Linked DNA regions of Homo sapiens: region 2 is linked to region 1. The links are contacts of gene promoters, found by promoter capture Hi-C in human tissues and cell types (Jung and others, 2019). All regions are on one chromosome and are shown on one strand. Each heading gives the region's core, a stretch centred on a gene start or on the middle of the fragment in contact. The rest is flanking DNA. Distances are from core to core; before and after follow the strand shown.

Evidence for each region. Contacts are between HindIII fragments. The study calls those that stand out against the background at their distance.
Region 2: a fragment that was not itself captured here is called in contact with the fragment with the promoter of LBH in region 1 in 1 of the 25 tissues and cell types used here (lymphoblastoid cells).

What each region holds. Positions count from the first base shown.
Region 1 is chr2:30,228,654-30,233,352 of GRCh38, reverse strand. It overlaps LBH (LBH regulator of Wnt signaling pathway), which reads right to left and starts at 1,819. Exons shown (of 3, transcript NM_030915.4): 1 at 1,589-1,819. The coding sequence starts at 1,614. RefSeq lists silencers at 820-879, 890-1,089, 1,480-1,569, 1,770-2,319 and enhancers at 2,123-2,637, 2,638-3,153. The HindIII fragment of the contact is 5,872 bases long and covers 1-4,004 here.
Region 2 is chr2:30,798,714-30,803,412 of GRCh38, reverse strand. The region is part of intron 1 of CAPN13 (calpain 13); the gene reads left to right. Among named protein-coding and RNA genes, the nearest start is that of CAPN13, 6.4 kb to the left of the region's middle. The HindIII fragment of the contact is 3,194 bases long and covers 268-3,461 here.

The sequences.
Region 1 (4,699 bases), core at 570-3,069:
TGCCCCTCAAGAACTGTGTGATCTTGAACAGGTCCTGTAACTTCTCTGAGCCACAAGTGTCCTGTTTGTCTGTTACTCTGATGCTAATAGTGCATACCTCACAGTTAGGTTAAGGGCTAATGTCTGCATAAAAGCATTGCAAGCTGCAAAGTGCTAATCGATGAAATAAACTTAAACCTTAATTTCTCATAATATTCTTAATGGGTCCAAACACCCACCTTGGCAAATTTTGAGCAGCCAAAGGCACAAAGCCTCCAACAGCCTTCAAAGCTTCACCTATAATAAGGCACCTAGCTGCTCACACACCACGGGAGAGGCAAGGGAGGGGCACCCACAAGAAGGGTACACAAGCCTCGGGGTGGGGGAACTTGAACTGTTGAGAGAGGGAAGTTCAGTCCCCTCTCTAAACACTGCCAGGCTGGGACGGATGGGGGCAGGGAGACTAACAGAAGATGCGGGGCTTTGCGGCAAGTTTAGGTTCGGGAGCTGGGCCCTGCAAAGGCAGTTTCCTCCCGGGTCTTGGAAAGGCTGCTGGCGACCTCCAAAGAAAGGAGCCAGAAGAGCGCACGCAGGGTGAAGAGTCTGACGTAGGGGCGGCTCTTCCTCGCTCGGGGCTGTGGCGCCGGCCCGAAAAGTTGAAGCGAGAAGCATGAACTTTCCGCTTCTTGGGCCAGGCCGGACCCCGCCGCGGCTTGCGCCGGTTTTCCCTTCGCTCAGCGCCTGCCGGAGACTCGGGGCCGAGCTCCCCACGTCCGCACCTGAGAGCGCGCTCCGGGGCTGCCGGCGCTCGCCCCCGGCCGCTTCTCCTCTAACCCAGAGCAGGAAGGAAGAAACTGCCAGCAAGGAAGTCCCAGCAGTCAGGGGCCTGCCTCTCTCTGCATCCCTCCCGGCTCCGATCCCCAGTCCGGGGCAAACCTCCGACGCCCCGCGCCCGGCCCGGGCTCCTTCCCCTTCAGCACGGCGAAGGCGGCTCCTCCCAGTCCCGGCCCCCACCAATGTGCGTCGGTTTTTAGGGGCGGTGGAGAGGGCAGGGGTTGAGAGGCTGCAGCGCGTGCCCTGCTGCTTGTGGCTTTAGTGGGGTTACGTGTGGGGAGAGCGTTTCCCGCCCCCCACCCCCCCGGAGCTCTGCAAACCCTGCGGCCGCACCAGCTCAGCCCCGCTGCTGCCGGCCTCGACGTTGAGACTTGCATGCAAACAAAAAGAAAAAGAGGAGGGGCCCGGGAAGAGCAGGAGCCCCCCTGCGCCAAGTGGGGCGCGCGCCTCCTGCAGCTCTCCGCATAGGGTGGTTTCATTGGGGGGGATTCACACGTGACCCCTGGCTCCCCCGCCAACCAATACAAACCCTCCGGCCGTCACTTAGGTGAGGGCTCCGAGTTCACGTCCTTTGTCTGGATGTTCTCAGCACCCCCTCCCCCCACCCCCACCTTTGCAACCTTGACGTTGACTCCTGCACGGGCTCGGGCGGCGGGTTAGCGCTGAGCGCCCGCGCCGCCGGCTGCCCTCGCACCCGGAGCCGGCACGAAGCAGGCGCCCGGGCCCGCAGCCACCGCCGCGAGACAGACGCCCGCCGCAGGCGCAGGGTACTCACCAGTGAATGGGGAAATATATAGACATGAAGTCCTAGGGCAGGCTGACACACGCCCCTGTGATTTAAAAACGGTCCCTGCGTCCCGAGTGAGGATGACACGGGCGCAGACGGGCACGGCAGGCGGCCGAGTGCGGACACCGGGCGCTCGCCGTCCGCCTTCCCAGGACAGCCCCACGGCTAGCGACGTCGGCAAGGTGGACACAACTCCCCGCTCTCCACTGAGCACTCAGCCCCACAAAGAGCCCGGGAAGCCGTATTTATAGGGGCGGGGGCGGGGCTTGGCCCCGAGAGGCCCCGCCCTCCCTCGCCCACTCCTGGAATAACGTCACCAAAATCATGAATGGCTTCAGCGCTCGCAGCTCCGGCGGGCGGCGGCTCGGGGGCGCGCTCGGCTCTGCTCCCGGGGCCGTGGTTCGCTGCGGCTGCGAGCCCGGCCCCCTCCCGCCGCTCTCCCACGCGCACACGCGCTCACTCGCACCGGCCCGGACTCCGCGTCCGCGCCGCTTCCCGCTCACAGCCCCCTCCACGCACACCCCGAACTCCAGCGCGGCGGAGGTGGGCGCAAGGAGGGCGCGGGGGCCGCTCGGGACATGACAGCTCGGCGGCTGCTCTGCGCCGGGGTAGGGCACCCGCCACTCCTCCACCCCAGCCGCCCGGCGCCAGCGCCCTCCTTCCCATCCACTGGCTGTCCCCAGCCCACCTCGGACCCCTCTGAAGCGTTTGTTCCCCATACTAGGCCTCTCTCTGGAATCCTCGCCCGCAGCCTTGCGATCAGCGAGGGGAAACAAGAGCATGGTTAAAGAAGAAGCGGTGGGAAGGTGGCAGAGACGCGGAGCCGGGGGACCGAGTGCCCACGGGGCGCGTTGGCTTGCGAAGGGCTGGTCTGCAGCCCTGAGTTCCGTGGAAGGTTTTATTTGTGGGAGCAAGGATGTGGTGTCGTCCTGGGTAGGATTTTTCCATTGGAGACACACATACGCCCGGTCTGCAGCGGGGGCAGAAGGTGTGGGCGGGCGGTGTGCACGCCGCCCCCCATCCTTGACTCCCACGTCTTCTCCGAGGAGTCGCTCATGACAGCAGAAACAAAGAGCTTTAGCCGAACGCCTCCCACACTGCCCAGGAATTGCAGCTCTGGGCGTCTGTCCAGGCAGTCAAAGCTGCGCAGCCCCCCAGAGCCACATGATGGGAGTCTCACTCGGGACCCAGCGCTGCCGCTCTGTGGCCTCCGCTTCAATCACGCCTGTAAAATGGCTTTAGAACCCTCACCTACCTGTGTATAGGGGCTGAGGAAAGGGGGCGCGGGGAGATCAAAAACTAAGCAAAATTAAATTGGCTTTGAAGTGAATCAGCTTTTTAAAAGAAAGGCAGTGAGTGTATTGAATCCGTATATATGTACTTGAAAGTGGAAACGCATAGCTTATCTCAGGCAAAAGGATGACAGAATTAATGGCGAAGGTTCGACAGGGGTAGGACCCTGAAGGAAGCCGTGAGAGAAGACCCTCATAATTTTCATCAGTCCCCGCAAAACCAGCCCAAACAAAAATTATAAGAATTGATGAGAATAATTTATTTAAAAATAACTGGGCTATTTTCAATCACTTATATGCTTATATGTACAACCTGAGTTAAAATAGTGTGCTTCCTATGAAAACACAGCTTCATGACAAGCCCCTGGCTGCCCCCTCCAACCAGAGAAATTCCCCCACCTCCCAAGCTAAACGCATTCTCTTCCTCTGGGGGTGTTGCCTGATGGAGGGGCTAAACGGGAGATGCTGCAGGGATGGGGTTATTGTTGATGTCCTGCACAGAGGGTGGGGAAGCTTCTCAGTGTCACTAGCCAGGTGTGGCACATTGTCATCTAGGCAGCCACAGGAGACGCCAATGCTTGGAGAGCTAGTTTCCAGGCTGAGACTTCCAGGCACTCAGAGGAAAATGTCTGGGCTAGACCCCGGGTGGGCAGGATGAAGCCTTCTGCCACTTCTTCCCAGTAGCAATCTCTGGTGAGGCTGGGATCAAAGACTGTTGCGCCACTTTTACACATAACAGACACACTTTATGTGTTTGTGATTATTGCCATGTGAAGCTTTCAAAACTCAGAAAGCTATTTCCCTCCCTCCCCATTTTCCCAAATATCTAAATGTCAAAATGGCCTCATTTTGGAGAAGAGGGTGGGGAGTAAGGCCTCCACCAGCTGTTATCTGGCCTCTGGAAAAATCCTCTACATTGGAGTGCATTGAGGGAATTACCTGAGGCCTACTCTTTGGGAAACTTATTAATGCCCATTTTAGCTAAAGTTCATCTCTGTCAGTAAGTTAAAATAGAAATAAGCCTGGGGTTGTGATCCCCAGTCTGCATTTTCTGTTTCTCCTCTGGAATCACAGTGACACATCCATTCATTTGAAAATATGGGAGGTGGCTGGGTGCGGTGGCTCACGCCTGGTAATCCCAGCACTTTGGGAGGCTGAGGCAGGTGGATCACCTGAGGTCAGGAGCTCAAGACCAATCTGACCAACACGGTGAAACCCCGTCTCTACTAAAAATACAAAAATTAGCTGGGCGTGGTAGTGGGTGCCTATAATCCCAGCTACTTGGGAGTCTGAGGCAGGAGAATCGCTTGAACCTGGGAGGCAGAGGTTGCAGTAGGCCGAAATTGTGCACTCCAGCCTGGGCAACAAAAGTGTGACTCCGTCTCAAAAAAATAAAATAAAATAAAATAAAATAAATAAAATAAAATATGGGAGGCGTGGGGCTAAGCTTTGATGCAACCATAACTAGCATGCCATTTCTCAGTTATACTAGTCTATATGATGCCTTGCAGGTTTTTTTTTTTTTTTTGAAGCATTTCATTGTCTTGGCTTTCAAAAGAATGTGATAAGGTTAACATAGCACAACTTATGGTCCTCAGTTCACAGATATGTAAACTGAGGCCGAAATAAATTAGGAGGCTTGCCAAAGATCACACAGCCGGAAAGTGGTTGAGCTGGGCCTGGAACTCAGAGGTTGTAGGCATACTCAGCTTCCCCTTCTGTTAACATAGCTCTGGCTGACTGCCTTTCCTTCATATCTCTAAAGATACAGAGTATTTCAACATGCACACTGACCATTTCTTCCCAA
Region 2 (4,699 bases), core at 615-3,114, 570 kb before region 1:
CTGACCAGCACCTCCCACACAGTTCAGAGGACTGAACAAGACCCTGTCCCAGCCTGCAGACCAGAGACACAGAGGGGCGCTGTCTCCCATCACAGCCACACACTGCCTTCGGGAGATGCACCCAGTGGCCCACTAGAGACCACTGGTTCTCAAAGGTCTGAAGCCAGAGAGGTGATGGAGAGATGACAGGAATCTTTGCCCCTGTTCTTCTCGCCAAACATTCTCTTTTCTCCCCACTCTAATCCTTAACCAGACGTGGCAGCCAACCAGCTGAACTACATATACCATTAAGCCCCACCTCAGAAAACTCTAGCTTTCTGCAGGAACTTAAGATACAGTCGGATGGCATGGCCCTGGGGGAGATGAGGGCAGAGGCTTTCTGCAGGGGCTGGCTCCTGGGACTCCAGCCAGCAGACCACCAGATGCACGTTCCGTCAACCCAGGGGCTGTCCTGAGCCAGTGCTGCCATCCCCTCAGACCTGTCCTCAAGCCTTCTTCCTCAGCCAGGTCACCTGCCCTAGGTGGGCGTGGGGATTCCCCACAGCTCCCTGCCTGTTCTGGAACATAGGCCAGACAGCAAGAGGGGTGGAGGTCTCCTGGGACTGCATCTACCTCTCTTTTCAGGCAGAGGCTCCCAGGCCTGTACCCCCTGCCCCAGGTCCTGTCCTTCCCACCATCTCCCCAGTGGACCCTGCAAGAGCTGGTTTTTAGGCCATTTCTGCTCCTCTCTCTTTCCTCTGTCTTTCCTTCTTGCCCTCAGTCCTTGCTTTCAGAAGCTCTGGCTCTCCCCGTTTCTTAGGGCTGGAGAGGGAAAGAATGACAGAAGGAACAAGGGAAACCTCAGAGGTCTAACCACCACCCCCCCCCCCCAGCCTGCCTTTCTCTGCTTCACTCACTCACTTAGACACGTTTACATTCACATTTACACACACACACACACACACACACATACACACACACACATTCTAAGCTCCTTCTTTTTCATGTTGCTTTTTGACATATTTAATATAGAAAGCTCTTGTTTTTGAAAAACATTTCTCCTCCCACTGGTCCATATCCTGACCCCAGAGATGGGACCCCATCTGCTTGGATGGAAGCTTGCTCCAGAACAAGAAGGTTGACCTGGGCCTTCCTGGGGACCTTCATCGTGTGTCTCCGAGCACCTGGTCAGAAAAGGGAATGGCTCCCTTAGTCAACGTGCTTGGCCACTGGTACTACTGGATTTGTCTCCAAACCCCCGCCACCCCCCAACCAGAGCTCCCAGTCCAGGGCTCAGCCTACTCGCCTCTGCAGCCTCCACAGGTCAGGCCTGAGAGACCCAGAATGGCCAGGCACAGACTGGGATGCCCAGGTAACCGGGCCAGGGGTCCATCAGCCGGCTCTACTGTCCTTTCTCCGCTGTGTTGTGGCTAGACGCAGCGCAGGGGGCGGTGGTCTTTAAAAAGCTCCATCTGAGAGTCACATCATCTGCATTCCTTGTTTTCCAGCCATGCCTTGAGAATTCACATCTTGAGGGATAAGAAAACAGGGTAATATTTGGACACAATTCTGGCACCGTCAATGCTGGGCTGGCGTGAGAATCCCTTCCCCTGGTGGACTTTGTCCTCCCTGCGTCTGGGCCATCTCATTCCTCCCACTCTCTTCCTCAGTCTCCATCCCTGCTGACTGGCTGTCCCTGGCTCCCTTTCTGTCGCCCAGCCAGTCTTTGACTTTCTCTTTGTGTGGTTGCTCTGTCTTGGCCTCTGCCTCATCCATTTTTCCATTTTCTTTTTCTTCTTCTTCTTCTTTTTTTTTTTTTTTTTTTTTTTAAGACTGAGTCTCCCTCTATCACCCAGGCTGGAGTGCAATGGCATGATCTTGGCTCACTGCAACCTCCGCCTCCCGGGTTCAAGCGATTCTCCAGCCTCAGCCTCCTGAGTAGCTGGGATTACAGGTGCACACCACCACGCCCAGCTAGTTTTTGTATTGTTAGGGTTTCACCATGTTGGGCAGGCTGGTCTCAAACTCCTGACCTCGTGATCCACCCGCCTCACCCTCCCAAAGTGCTGGGATTACAATCATGAGCCACCGTGCCCAGTACTCATCCATTTTCTGTTTGTCTTTGTCCATTTAAATGAAAAAGCCTAAGAAGATAGGCCCAGGGAAATCCTTTAAGAATAAACGGATTATATAAATGTGGCCTCAACTTCCAAAGAGCCTTAAAAATAAGAAAGGAAAAAGACCCCAAACCTAGCCTTCTGCGGTTCAAGCCTTTGGGAAGTGAGCAGGCCCGGAGCCGAGGGTCTGCCTGGGGAGTACTCGTCTGAAACAGCGGCTCTCAAGACCCTGCATTTTAACTTGGTACATGGCAGGCCCCAACTTCCTAAGTCTACTAAATTTGTATTTGTTTCAGAAAAAATTTGAATTAGCTAAATGAGAAGTGCATCTCTCCTTCAAGGATGAAAAAAGAAAAAAACCATGCTGGGAAATCTGAGCACAGATTAAATATTACACAGTGTTTCTGAGACTCATGTAGTTTTAGTTCCCAGAAAAAAGAATGCTCTACCTCATCCTTAGAATATAGTTGAGTCTACTCAACCCTATCATAATTGAATGACACCTATCAAATGCTCTAGGGAGGGGAAAGGAGATTTCCATGCAAAGACAAGTTTCTTTTTTGTGTGTATTGGCACAAACCTAAACTTAATTGAAAGAAATAATACATTCTGTGGGTTCCTATTTTATTGTCTAACAGTATCATTGAGGCTACATAAGAACCTGTTGTCTCAGTTCCAGAAATACAGAATCTTACAGTAGAAAAGCACTTAGAAGTGCGAGACCAACCTCCTTAGTGTTCCAAGTGGGGAGACCGAGGCTAGGGGAGGGAGCGACGTGCCCAAGGCCCATAGAGTTTAGTGGAGCTTCACAGATTCTTTCTGTCAGGCAAACCTTCTCTTGGTTACCCCCAGGGTCTCCTGAGAAGAACCCATCAGCAGAGCTCTCTGAGCTATGATTCAGGAAGAGGCTGGGTCCACACAGCAAGGGCAGTAAGGAGAGAAGAGGCTGGGGTTGCCCTGCCTGTGGAACCTCAGTAAGTCGCTTCTGCTTTCTGCCTCTCTTGCGCCAAGCTGTTGATCTCTTTGGCAGTCAGCTCCAGTGCTGAACCCAGAGTCACTGGCAGGCAATAGAGAGGTCTATTCTGAGCACTTACTTCTCTGGTACCTGTTCCAGGTCTACGTAGTTTTCTTTCTTTCTTTCTTTCTTTCTTTCTTTCTTTCTTTCTTTCTTTCTTTCTTTCTTTCTTTCTTTCTTTCTTTTCTTTCTTTTCTTTCTTTCTTTTCTTTCTTTCTTTCTTTTTTTGAGATGGAGTCTCACTCTGTAGCCCAGGCTGGAGTGCAATGGCGCAATCTCGGCTCACTGCAAGCTCTGCCTCCCGGGTTCATGCCATTCTCCTGCCTCAGTCTCCCGAGTAGCTGGGACTGCAGGCGTCTGCCACCACACCTGGCTAATTTTTTTGTATTTTTAGTAGAGACGGGGTTTCACCGTGTTAGCTAGGATGGTCTCGATCTCCTGACCTCGTGATCCGCCCACCTTGGCCTCCCAAAGTGCTGGGATTACAGGAGTGAACCACTGCGCCTGGCCCTGTGTAGCTTTCTACATCTGAAGACACGAGAGAGGTTTCCTTCATTTCATTTCATGGCCTCTTCCCTGGCCCTCGGTGGATCAGAGGTTATCTCAGAGGATGAGAAACACTAGCTTACCTCTGCCCCTCTCAGCCCTGATTAGACACAAAGTAGGATGCCCTCGGCAGGGACGGAGGCATGCTTTGCTCACAGGCCAGATCACCCCAGCTTTGAAGCTGGGGGCAGGACAGGAGTCAAGCCCAAGCGCTGCCTAAACTTCTTCTGTTTCACCTTGAGCCCCACTTTCCCCTTCTGCAAAGTGAGCCCTGCATAGTCTTCCTCTGAGGTCTGCCTTTCTGGGGGCCACTAATCCCACCATGGTATTCAGGCCACACATGCATGGAGACTTACTGAGATGATTCTGAAGTGCAGAGTGGCTCAGGGACAGCACTGGTCTGGCGGTTAAGTTCCATCTTCAAACCCGATGTTTAAGCTCATTCTCACACTTACACCATCTCACATAAGCTCTTTGAGAAATACTCACATGTTCTTCCAACTTGCTGTAGATTTGTATACACACAAAATTTTCTGTCTTCTTCCCTCTCTCTCCCACCCACTCTCTCTTCCTCCTCCTTCCTTTTCCCCCTCTCTGTCTTCCTTCCTTCTTCTTACCCCCTTCTTTTGCTCTCTTCTCTCTCTCTGCTTCATTCTCTCTCTGTCTCCCTCTCTCTCCTCAAAGCCCTGAGGTATGCCAAGGTGGTATATAGCTGAAAGTGGTTTGCACATCTTTTTCCCACCAGAGAGCAGTTAAGTGCCTATTTTCTCCACTCGGGTAGCTAAATTATTCTCGATGTGTTAAACAGTGTAATTAAACACACACATACACACACAAGTGCACAGGCCCCTTCCCCCACCCTTCCTTGTTCCTTGTCAGCAGAGAGAGTGTCAGCCCCAGCCTTCAAGCTCTGTTAGTTTTAATTTGAGTTGTGGAATTAGTAATGGGTTTTGCTGGAACACTGTTGTGGGAAATAGATTGCTCCTCGTGCAGGGTTTGGGCACCATTTCAAATGAGTATTTGTTAAGGGGAAAACCGTCCC